2 separate regions of the Homo sapiens genome follow, and region 1 is linked to region 2. The links are contacts of gene promoters, found by promoter capture Hi-C in blood cells and fetal thymus (Javierre and others, 2016). All regions are on one chromosome and are shown on one strand. Each heading gives the region's core, a stretch centred on a gene start or on the middle of the fragment in contact. The rest is flanking DNA. Distances are from core to core; before and after follow the strand shown.

Region 1 (5,257 bases), core at 706-3,205, 540 kb before region 2:
CTTTACATTTATTCCCCTTCCTAGAATGCACTTACCCCTCTAAGACTGGCATGGCAATGTATTGCAAAATGAAATTTTCCTATCATGTTGCCTAACACATTGTAGGTATGCAATAAATGTTTATACATACTGAATAACAGGATTTTAATCACAGCTTTTAACTATATGGTGCCCTGGGAATGACGGGAGGAGGTGGAGGAGAGTGACCACCTTAAGCAGATTGGTTCTCAGAGTAGATATCTGTGAGACACAGTAGACATTAGACATGCACTAATAATTGGAGAAGGAAAAAAGCTTCTCCTTCCAAAAGCCAGTAGACTACAGGAGGAGATAGACACGAGTAACTTTAGTGTATTGTGCTGGGTATTATGTTAGATAGCCTATGGGAGCCTAGAGAATGGGTACCCAGCTGGGTGCGGTGGTTCACGCCTGTAATCCCAGCACTTTGGGAGGCTGAAGCAGGTGGATCACCTGAGGTCAGGAGTTCAAGACCAGCCTGGCCAACATGGTAAAACCCCGTCTCTACTAAACATACAAAAATTAGCCGGGTGTGGTGGCGGGCACCTGTAATCCCAGCTACTCAGGAGGCTGAGGCAGGAGAATTGCTTGAACCCAGGAGGTGGAGGTTGCAGTGAGTGGAGATCGTGCCACCACACTCCAGCCTGGGTGACAGAGCGAGACTCCGTCTCAAAAAAAAAAAAAAAAAAAGAGAGAGAATGGGCTCCCAGCTGAGGCTGGACCCATGCAATACATTGCTCACCGTAGTTAATAATAAATGCCTACAGTGCCCCCGAAAGCTTCCCTGAAACAACCCATTGCGGCCATCCAGAATCAGCCAAAATTCTATTTGGACTTGGGCTTCCTAGATGTGTTTGAGACCTATTGTATTAATTCTAGGCATACCAAATGTATTTTGATCATATCTCTTTAATACTCTTCCTGTCTTAACAAGACTAAGATAAAGACAAAGATCTTTTATTTTACTTTGGTAGCCTCCAGGGTGCAGAATAGTTAAAGACACCTCCCTCTCTCTCTTCAGCATTTGGCCAAGAGACGAATGTCCCTTTGAACAACTTCAGTGCTGATCAGGTAACCAGAGCCCTGGAGAACGTTCTAAGTGGTAAAGCCTGAAGCCTCCACTGAGGATTAAGAGCAACAGCCCCAGAGCCTGGGCTCTGCTGGACTTAGTATAATGTGAAAAAAATGTGTTCTCCTATTCCTCATAAAGCTTGTGCTGTAAAATACTTTCTCAGGGTGTTCTTGTCCTCATCTACCCTCTACCCCTTACTGTGCAACCACTGAGGCAAAGTAGCTTAATATAAAAATAAAACTTTATTCTGTCTCATCAAAAGCTACCAGCTGCTGAAGCAAACATGAAGGGTGGCGGGGGGGCAGGGATTCTAGGGCCCCAGAGTAAGTAGACCACACTGAGTCCCTTTTGGTCCTCCTGCCTGGATAGTGCTGAGTGGAAGGGGAGGAGCTGGGACCCAAAGGTCTTGGCTTAGGTGTGGGAGCAGAGAACATGAGACCTCATTATGGTCCTAAATCTCCAAAGGCTCTACTGGACAAACAAGCTTGATGTTAAGAGAGAGGGGAATGAGTGACATTGAGAAACAAGATCACCCTTGAAGAGCTGTCTGCTGGAGAGCATACACACGATCCTGGAGCTGGGCCTCTTCCTGATGCCTTTCCAGGGCTTGCAGCCCTGACTGCTGCAGGAAGACCTGAACAGCCTAGGGGCAGGGAAGAAAATTCAACACACCTGGTCTCTGTGTCCTAAGACTCAATTCCCACAGCCTCATGGGTCAGCCTACTCCAGAGGGTGCATTCCCCAACAAGAGGATGAAGTTTCTGACATGGAACCTATATAGGTTAGCCAGGCCCAGAGAAACAACTATAGTTAGGACTGGATGGGAAGGGAGCCACTGTGTGGCTTCAGAACAGGGGTGACTGAGGATGTGGGCCAGAAACCTATACCTCTGGCTGATACAGGAACAGCAGATGCAGCAGCTCCAAACTCTGGCCTACTACTTCAGTGTCAGAAAAGGCTAGTGTGTGCAGCAAGGCGGGAAGCAGGGGCCCTGGCCACAGCCGCTGGCAGTAAGCAGGACCCTTTTCTGCAACATTGCACAGAACTGTGAGCACCTGCAGATAGACACATATATAGTCTACAAAGAATGAAACACAAAGATCATAACAATAGCTAAAATATATGACATGGTGACCACATGCCCAGGCACCATGCCAAGCTCTTCTACATACATGTTCTCATACTCCTACAACTACCCTATGATGCAAGATTATCCTCAGTTATAAGTGAGGAGACTGAAGCTTAAGGTGGTTAGTTGATTTGTCCAAGGATAAATAATCCAGTTTAAGGGACACACACCTAGATTGGTTGGGCCCTGAGGCCACACACCACCACCTGCTGGCTCTCAACTAAGGGTACATCTGAGGGCTCAGGACTGCTGTCCCATACAATCCGACTACCAGATCTTGGATTCAAGTAACCCCAATACATACCATTACGCTCACCACGTTAGATACTGGCAACAGCTGTAAGAGAGGCTCAATCAGATCCAGGGAGAGCAAGGAGGTACAGAAACTAGGACTGTTTGCTGGAAGAGAAGTACCAGGGTGAAAAACTGCTTTCCCCCACCACCCCTGTCAATACTACCCACCTCAGCCTAGGCCATGAGGAAATATCCCCATTATCCAAATGTCCAGGCCTGGGCAGATTATGGTGCGTACCAGTGAGGTTGTTGAGGAGCCAAAGGCCCTCAGGGAGCAGACTGGGCTGTTTCTGGAAAAAGAACTGCAGAAGGATAAATAAGGCTGCCACAACACGCTCATCTCTGAGCTGCATTTGCCCTCCCACAGTCTCCACTGCTGCCTCAGTTAGCAGGTTGCTTAGACATCGAAGCACGGGGCATGCCAGCTGCAAAGACAAATTGGGGGGTCAGGTGTAAGAAGGAAGAGGTTACCTGCATTCCAGAGTATCAAGAAACATCTCCCAGAATTTCACCTGACATCTTCACCTACCAGCTCCAGTCCTGCATCCTCGGTTTTCTGGACAGCCCCAGCCAAGTCCAACAGCAGCAACCCCAGAGTAGACAGAGCCCCATGGCCAATGAGCAGAGGATTGCTGACCTGGCTGGGCAACAGGAAGCAAGCAGTCCCTAGGTATATAGTCAATTCCACCTTTAAGAAGAGAAGCAGTTGCCTAGGCGTGGTGGCTTATGCCTGTAATCCCAGCACTTTGGGAGGCTGAGGTGGGTGGATCACCTGAGGTCAGGAGTTTGAGACCAGCCTGGCCAACATGGCGAAACTCCGTCTCTATTAGAAATACAAAAATTAGCCGGGCATAGTGGCACGCATCTGTAGTCTCAGCTACTCAGGAGGCTGAGGCAGGAGAATCGCTTGAACCCGGGAGGCAGAGGTTGCAGTGAGCTGAGATCGCACCACTGTACTCCATCCAGCCTGGGTGACAGAGTGAGACTGTCTCAAAAAAAAAGAGAAACAGCTAAGGTCTGTGGGTCTCCTGGGCTCCAAAAAGAGAAGACAGTGGAGGGAGGAAAACTCACTATAGCAATTCCAGACACAAGTTCAAAGAGTTGAATGTCATGGAAGGGAGCCCCAGGGAAGATCTGTGGTACTTTCCCAATTGCCCTGTTACCTGCAGATGATGTAATGAAGGCACCAGGCAAACTCCACAGCGACCCCAGGGTTGAGCTTTGGGCCAGGTTGCAACATTTGTAGCATGTGCTGAGGGAGAGTGGAGGCCAAGATGGAGCTGCTGGCAGAAGCAGGGCTGTAAGTAGGAACCACGAAGATGCCAGTGGTTCTTACCAAACCCTGATAGCAGGTGGGAGAGTGTCCAAACCCAAAGCCCTGCCCAGATGGGAAAGTGTCCAAACCCAAAGCCCTTCCTAGCCAGACACATGAATTTAAAATGTGCAACAGCTTTGGAAATCATTCAGGCATCCGGGAGCTATACTACTGAGTGGGTCACCTCTGGCTGCACATCTAAAGACAATTTTACTCACGGAATGATCTTCTCTGGAGCTTCCTCAGCCTGTAGAAGCTGGGACAAGGCATATCCGAGAGCTTCCAGCACAGCCACATGGGGGGACTGGAAGTAGACAGGGTAAGGATCTGACTGGAAGCTGGGTCATCAGGTCTTCAGAGACTTTCAGCCCCTTGGCACAGGGCAGAGGCTGGAGCTACCTAACCAAAGTAGATGGAGCATGTGGGGAGGAGCAAAGGAAGGGTTGCCCAGGGAGGAAGAAAGGAGTCACCTGGATGCAGGCAGCCAAGGCTGGAACAATGCCCTGTGGCAGGAGCTGCCTTCTCACAGCCTCACTCTCCACGATCAGGTTACCCAGTGTATACAGACACAGCTCCTGAGAACAGGCAACAAAAGCACTGGGCTTGGCCTGTTTCATGCCAGGCTGCGTGTGGGGAGATGGGGAGGGGAGGTGATGGGGACGCTGGAGCAGCTATCCTTGCGGCTCACAAGAGGGTGGGGAGATGATGGGTGTAGCCATGGCTGTAGGCATAAGGGCAAACATGTTTTCTTCCTCCTACCTGCCAGCTCAAACTGGTCCCAAAAGCACAATTTTAAAATCTAAACCAAGAACAAGATAGGAAGGGACAGGGCTTACTATGAAGTCTGAGCTGTGACTGGAGAGGTAGGTGAGGAGGTAAGAAGTGGCTGGCAGGCAGGCCTCAGCAACAGTGGACTGCTCGGAGTGAGAGAGCTCATGCAGGCACCGAGCCGCCTCAAGCTGCAGCAGGGCCTGGTTGCTGGTCAGGAGCCCGACCAGGGTCCGCATGCTGCCCTCCAGCCTATGTGAGTGAGTACCAGAGCCCTGCTTAGCTTGTGGTCCATCCCTCAGAGCCCCAACTCCTCCCTCCACCACACCATCCACACTGACCGGATGAAGGTTTGCTGTGTTTCAGGGTGCTGCAAGCCTCGACGAAGGCTGACCAGAGCCCCCTCTCTCTCCTTTTCCTCTGTCCCCCGCTGGGCTTGCCGCAGGAACTGCTGCACCTGGAGTTCAGGGCAGGGAAAGGAGAACACACGGTTCACAGAAAGCAAGTCCTAAGTCTCTCTCTGCCCACTTCACCTGTGAGCCTTCCAATATCACACCTTCAGAACTTGTCATTCACACTAATGCAACTAATAAGCATCTACCTTGCAGTGGAGTGGACAGAGAATCAGAACTGAGTTCTAATACCATACCTGCCACTTACT
Region 2 (5,198 bases), core at 700-3,199:
AGCTTGTGTTTTCAAGTGATACTTAGATTAAATACCAGTCTTAAACCAGACAACTATCTTCAATACCCAAATCATTAAAACTAACTGGGATGTTGTACTGTAAATGTTCAAAGTGGAGGAATTAGCCATTTCTTCTCATGACTGTCTACCAAAAAAATTGAGAAACTCTCAAATAAATCTTAACATTTAACAACAACAATGACTAATAGTAACAGCATTTCCCAGATCGTTCTTTAAAAGCGTATTCCTTTTCCATAGCTCACTTAATCTTGAAAATCATGCCTCTTCAATGCTATTTTAATGTTTCGGATTAAAGATATGAAGTAAACATTTAATATATGAAGAGAACAATCCACTTGATAAAAATCCTCGCATTTCCAAAATGTTTTCATTTTAAGCATTTGCAGAAGTTAAATAAATGTAGCAGACATTCTAAATTCGATAAAAAATTCAGAGAACCCGACATTTTATGTACCCCAAAGGTCCAAACAGAACCGATGTAAATGTCAATAGCTGTCTCCCTTCCGGCTGATACTTAAATGGTTTTACTAGTACTCAAAGCAATGAAATCAGCAACTCTCTCTCCACACTCTAGTCAACACTCCAATTTCCAAAGCCGCAATTCGCAAACGTCAGTTGGGCGGGGGCGGTGGGGGATCTTGAAGTAATCCAAAAATTTCCTTTCCCCTTTGACAGTCCACCAAAAGATGTCAAACCAAATCCAGCCTATTGTAAAGCTCTGGGACCTCCCTTCCAAGGACACCGAACACAAGCTTAGACACCGCTGCGAAAAGCTGTCCAAAAGCGCCTGGCCGGACAGAAATGTAAGGAGCCCAGGCCAAAACGAATTAGAACCCCCAACAGAGGGTCCCGCAGACACCGCGGAAAAGAAGGTGGCATTTATTCCGGGGTAGACAGCTACGAACCAGTTACCCCAGCCAGTCTCTGGGGGCTCTCCAACCCAAGTTCAGGTTTATGGCAGATATATTGGTTGGGTGCCTTCCCCTACAAACATCACAGCCCGCCTCCGGGGCCCACCGCCGCTCACAGAGAAGACCCCTCAGCTTCACATCCGTTCCTTTTGCCCTCGGACAAAGGCAGAGGAGCTGTGGAGCTGACCCAGCGCTGTGGGGCAGTAAAAATGCCTTGTTCGGGCCACCCATCTTTGGGCCCGGCTTCATCTGCGATGTCAGCACCAAAGGTTTTTTTTTTTTTTTTCCTGGTTTTGTTTTGTTTTTACAACGCATCCTGGGCGGGTGTATGCATTTGGTGGTAGTGGGGTGGGGGGAACCGAACAGAGGAGGGGTTGGCAGTGAAGCCTGGGTTATAGAACTCTCCTTCCTCTCCCTCCTTCCAGGGTTGCCGTGCAGGGAGTGTCAGCCACGTCTAGCGCACAGTCCCAGGCCCCAGGGCGAAGGCGGCCAGGGGAAATGGGGCTCAGGGATTGCTAAGCAAACGCATCACTGGTGGTCTCCAGCGCCTGCGGAGGTAGGATCGCCTCTTTTCTTAAGGGGCGTGTTATTTTGTTCTCTTTTGAAAGTAGGAGGGGGTTCATTCGTTTCTCGCTGCGGGGGGTGGGAGAGAACGTTGCTGCACCGCCTGGGTCTCCAAGAGGGAGGGTGCGGGGATGTCTGCAATGGTACTATAATTATTCCTGGGCTGAGAGAGCAAGTAAAGGGGACGGGGCGAGCGTCACCTGGAGCTGTGGCAGTGGCAGCAGGGAAGGTCGCGAGGGGCTTACCCGGGCGGGCGGGCGCTGTCCTGCCGCAGGTGAGGGAGGGCGCAGGCTGGCGGGAGGGAGGGCGCGCGCGAGACAGGCGCGAGGAAGGGGGGAGGGGAGGAGGGCGCGCGCGCGCACACCTGTCCTGGACAGCGGCGCTAGCCGAGCTGCGCCTCACTTAGGCTCTGCGGGCTGAGGAGGAAGGAGGGCGGGCTGGCGGGCGGGGGCGGGACGCCGAGGGGAGGAGGAGGAGGCGGCTCGGATGGCTGGCTCGGCTCTCGCTCGCTCTCCCTCCCATGGGCAAGTCCGGCTCACACCCTGCTTCTCCCGCTCACTCACAGCCCCCTTGGCTCTCCCTCCTCCTCCTCCTTCCCCTGCGGGATCCGCTCGCCGCCGCCGCCGCCGCCGCAGACGGCAAGTCGTGGCAGCCAGACGTCGGCGCGTAACCCGGCGCTCCGTGCGTGACTCCAGGCGACGTCAGCGCGCGCTCCGCGTTCCCCACCCCTCCTCCCAACTCCGTGGCTCGCGCCCTTCGCTCTCGCGTCCCTCCGTTTTAGCTGCCGCCGCGGCGGCCGCCGAGCGCGCTCTTTCCGCCCCCTTCTCGCGCGTGAGCGCGCCCTATCGGCTCCTGGCGCGTCAACATTCCGCGGGCCAGGCCTTGGGGCGCGTCTGAGGAGGGGGATGTCTGTGGCCTCTCCGCCCACACTTCCTCCACCCACCGCCCACAGCGCCCCAGAAGGACCTATTACTCGTTTGGCTTCTGAAGGCCGAAGCCAGGCTCTGGCGGGGATAGAACCCTGAAGGGCCTGCGCCAGCTCCAACTTAGGGCCCTGTGCGTCGTTGCGACTTCTGCTACCACCCTATCACGCGGCACCCCCGCCCCAACTCCGCCCGGGTCTCTGAAGAGGCAATAGGCCTTTCATCTCCGGGGAAAGTCTCACCTTGGCCCTCAGACACCCGCCAAGAGGGGTCGGAAGGACAGAATTAGCATAGAGAAGAGTGGCTAGAGCACTTTTCAGGCTCTGGCCCCAGGAATCCTTGACAGGAAGCGTGGGGTTGCTGCCCAGCCTCCCACGCAGTGTAATATGTTGAAGCCGGGCCCCTTTGAGGGAATGCGACTTCCTTGGGCCGAGGGGGAAAGGGTAAAAGTTAATTTTCATAAAATGCTATGCAAGGGCTAAATGTGAAATTATAAAATGTCCTTTAAGACAGTCTTCTTGAAATCGTATCAAGTTTGACAAGATTTTTGGTGCACGGTAACGCTTTTGCTCGCTTTCTACGCTGTCACGTCTCCATCCTGCAACACTGAATACGTAGATGGAACGTGGATCAGCTAATAACTGCAGCAAAATAAAAACTGCATTTATCATCTTTATCATTATTTAAATAGACCTCCGAGAAGTCAAACTGTGATTTAGGAAAACTTAATCATTGCCTCAACCTATTTAACTATTTTGTTTTGAAGTTACTTTGCAAATATACCACAAAATCCCTCTTTGTTAGGCAGTGGTAGACTTTTAAACTCACTTGTTAGAGAATCTTTCCCAGAAGCATATCTAGTTGAGCCTGCGAGGCAAGTAGGACTAAGGTATAATTACTCCCATTTTACAGATGAAAATTTAGTTATCAAAATGTAAGTCAGTTGTTCAGCATTGTGAGGAGTCTATCACTGATAAAGGGAAAACTCTAAGGTCTATTATTGCCTGCTTTATTCACTAAACCAGAAATCTCTCAATTGTTTTTTTCCAAGTATCTTTTGCTGCCTCTTACGTATTGTAGGCAGTGCCTGATGGCTGAGAAGAATCGCAGAGGACTAGAAAAGGTTTGAGTCTGAAATTATCTGGCACAGAGGATTAAAGCTCAGAAATAAGTGATTGCGAAACAGTTCAACTTCCCTGTTAATGACAACAACAACAGCAACACGCTTATTAATTCCTAGCTGGAGGTGAGAAAATGAGACTGGCTTAAGGGTGATGGGTCATTTCCTTTGAATTGCTTCTTTATATTCACCTCATCTTTAGGTGGCAGCACTACTATATAAATATCCTTCGAAGTACAGTCTTCTGCATCTTAATATCCTAAAGGATATTCTGTCCTAAATGTTTCCAACTGTATTGTGGAGATTAGAAACTGGTGATTTAATGATCTAAAATCATAGCTGAGAATTAGAAAACTTGGAGGTTCTAGAGGAGGAAAAACAAAGGCTATCAGACACATTAATAAAATACATGGAGCTACGGAGGGAAAACATTAGAAAGTTTCAAGAAAAAAGTTTTTTAGGTGTATGAGGAGCAAGTAGCATCTCTTTAAACCTTGTCTTTTATTGAAACATAGGACAAGATAACCTTCCAAAGCAAACCATCCTTTCTCAGTACTGCATATTTATCAAGCATTTACAGGTTCGAAGTTGCTAGTTATATAGTTGCTTGTACTCAACTGTAATTTAAAAATTCCGATGCAGTTTTTCCTAATTAACAGCATCAAGCTTATGAAGATTTCCAAGACTTTATTGTTGACCCTTGTTGAAGAGAACTCTACTTGGCTTCTTTCCTGGCTTTCCTAAATTGTTCACATACAAGATAAACTACCGTCATTCAGACTTACAGAAGTGAGAAGACAAGCTGAACCAAATGTAAAATGGTAGCAATTTACAGGTAATTCTGTATCTTAATTTCTCCCACATTTTTAGGGTAAAAAATTGTGATATATGGGGGTTATTTGGATCAAGTGTTTTCTAAGTAGAACTTTGTCATAATTAATTTTATGTATTTATAGTAGTTCTCCCTGTGTCCCTTTATCCAAGCAACACAATACAATTGAATTTATATGCATTTCAAAATAGACTCCATTTGATTTACCGTGTAAATACAACCACCAAGGAATATAGAGGTATGACAATCAGGAGTGAGAAATAAAAGCATTTCTGGATAGAGGATGAAGTGTTAATAGTCTTTCTTTATGGCGTCTTCCATCTATCTCAAGTCAAACTTGGAGGAGGAGTCTCAAGCAAATTGGTAGTACTCAAACTCTGCAGTATTATGTTAAGATTTTTAAGCTGTCTGGTGCCAACAAATCATGCAGCCTGGGGGCCTTTGCTCCAAACTTCTGCCAACTCCATTTTGGCAGTAAAATGTTCTGTTGAACAAAGTTTGCACGTGTTTAGGGTGTGAAGTGGTTCCTCAGGCATTTATCTAGTTTTATTCCAGTTTAGGGACTTGAAGACAAGGGTCAGAAGTGTGAGACTTGTAGACTTGATATGTGCACTGAAACATACTATATAGTAGCAATCTTGAATTTTTGGTTTAAGCAAGGACAGCTTTTTCTTTGTTGATACTGGAGTTATTAAAGTGAATCCTTTAGTTTACTCCTTAAAGGCTAACATGGTATCGAATTGGTTTTCATAAGCAGGTAAGCAGAACCCTCTCTGTTGAGGGTATAAAGCTGGGGAAAATCATTCCTCATCCTCCTAACTACACCA

The links. The method cuts DNA at HindIII sites, captures the fragments that hold promoters and counts their contacts. A CHiCAGO score of 5 or more calls a contact.
Region 1: a contact is called between a fragment that was not itself captured here and the fragment with the promoter of MALINC1 in region 2, in 1 of 17 cell types (naive CD8 T cells). The highest score is 5.3, in naive CD8 T cells.

What each region holds. Positions count from the first base shown.
Region 1 is chr5:140,641,461-140,646,717 of GRCh38, reverse strand. It overlaps TMCO6 (transmembrane and coiled-coil domains 6), which reads right to left. Exons shown (of 12, transcript NM_018502.5): 3 at 4,938-5,053; 4 at 4,665-4,848; 5 at 4,299-4,403; 6 at 4,047-4,132; 7 at 3,677-3,793; 8 at 3,043-3,154; 9 at 2,752-2,938; 10 at 2,524-2,618; 11 at 1,978-2,145; 12 at 1,314-1,733. The coding sequence ends at 1,620. NDUFA2 (NADH:ubiquinone oxidoreductase subunit A2) reads left to right here. Exons shown (of 3, transcript NM_002488.5): 3 at 1,040-1,433. The coding sequence ends at 1,131. Among named protein-coding and RNA genes, the nearest start is that of NDUFA2, 3.5 kb to the left of the region's middle. The HindIII fragment of the contact is 757 bases long and covers 1,577-2,333 here.
Region 2 is chr5:140,104,763-140,109,960 of GRCh38, reverse strand. It overlaps MALINC1 (mitosis associated long intergenic non-coding RNA 1), which reads left to right and starts at 1,949. Exons shown (of 4, transcript NR_102741.1): 1 at 1,949-2,552; 2 at 3,471-3,665; 3 at 4,199-4,374. It overlaps LOC124900193, which reads left to right and starts at 692. Exons shown (of 4, transcript XM_047417990.1): 1 at 692-2,177; 2 at 3,500-3,665; 3 at 4,182-4,374. The coding sequence starts at 976. The coding sequence ends at 1,902. RefSeq lists enhancers at 1,138-1,639, 2,750-2,849 and silencers at 1,790-2,049, 2,060-2,119, 2,150-2,219. The HindIII fragment of the contact is 3,432 bases long and covers 776-4,207 here.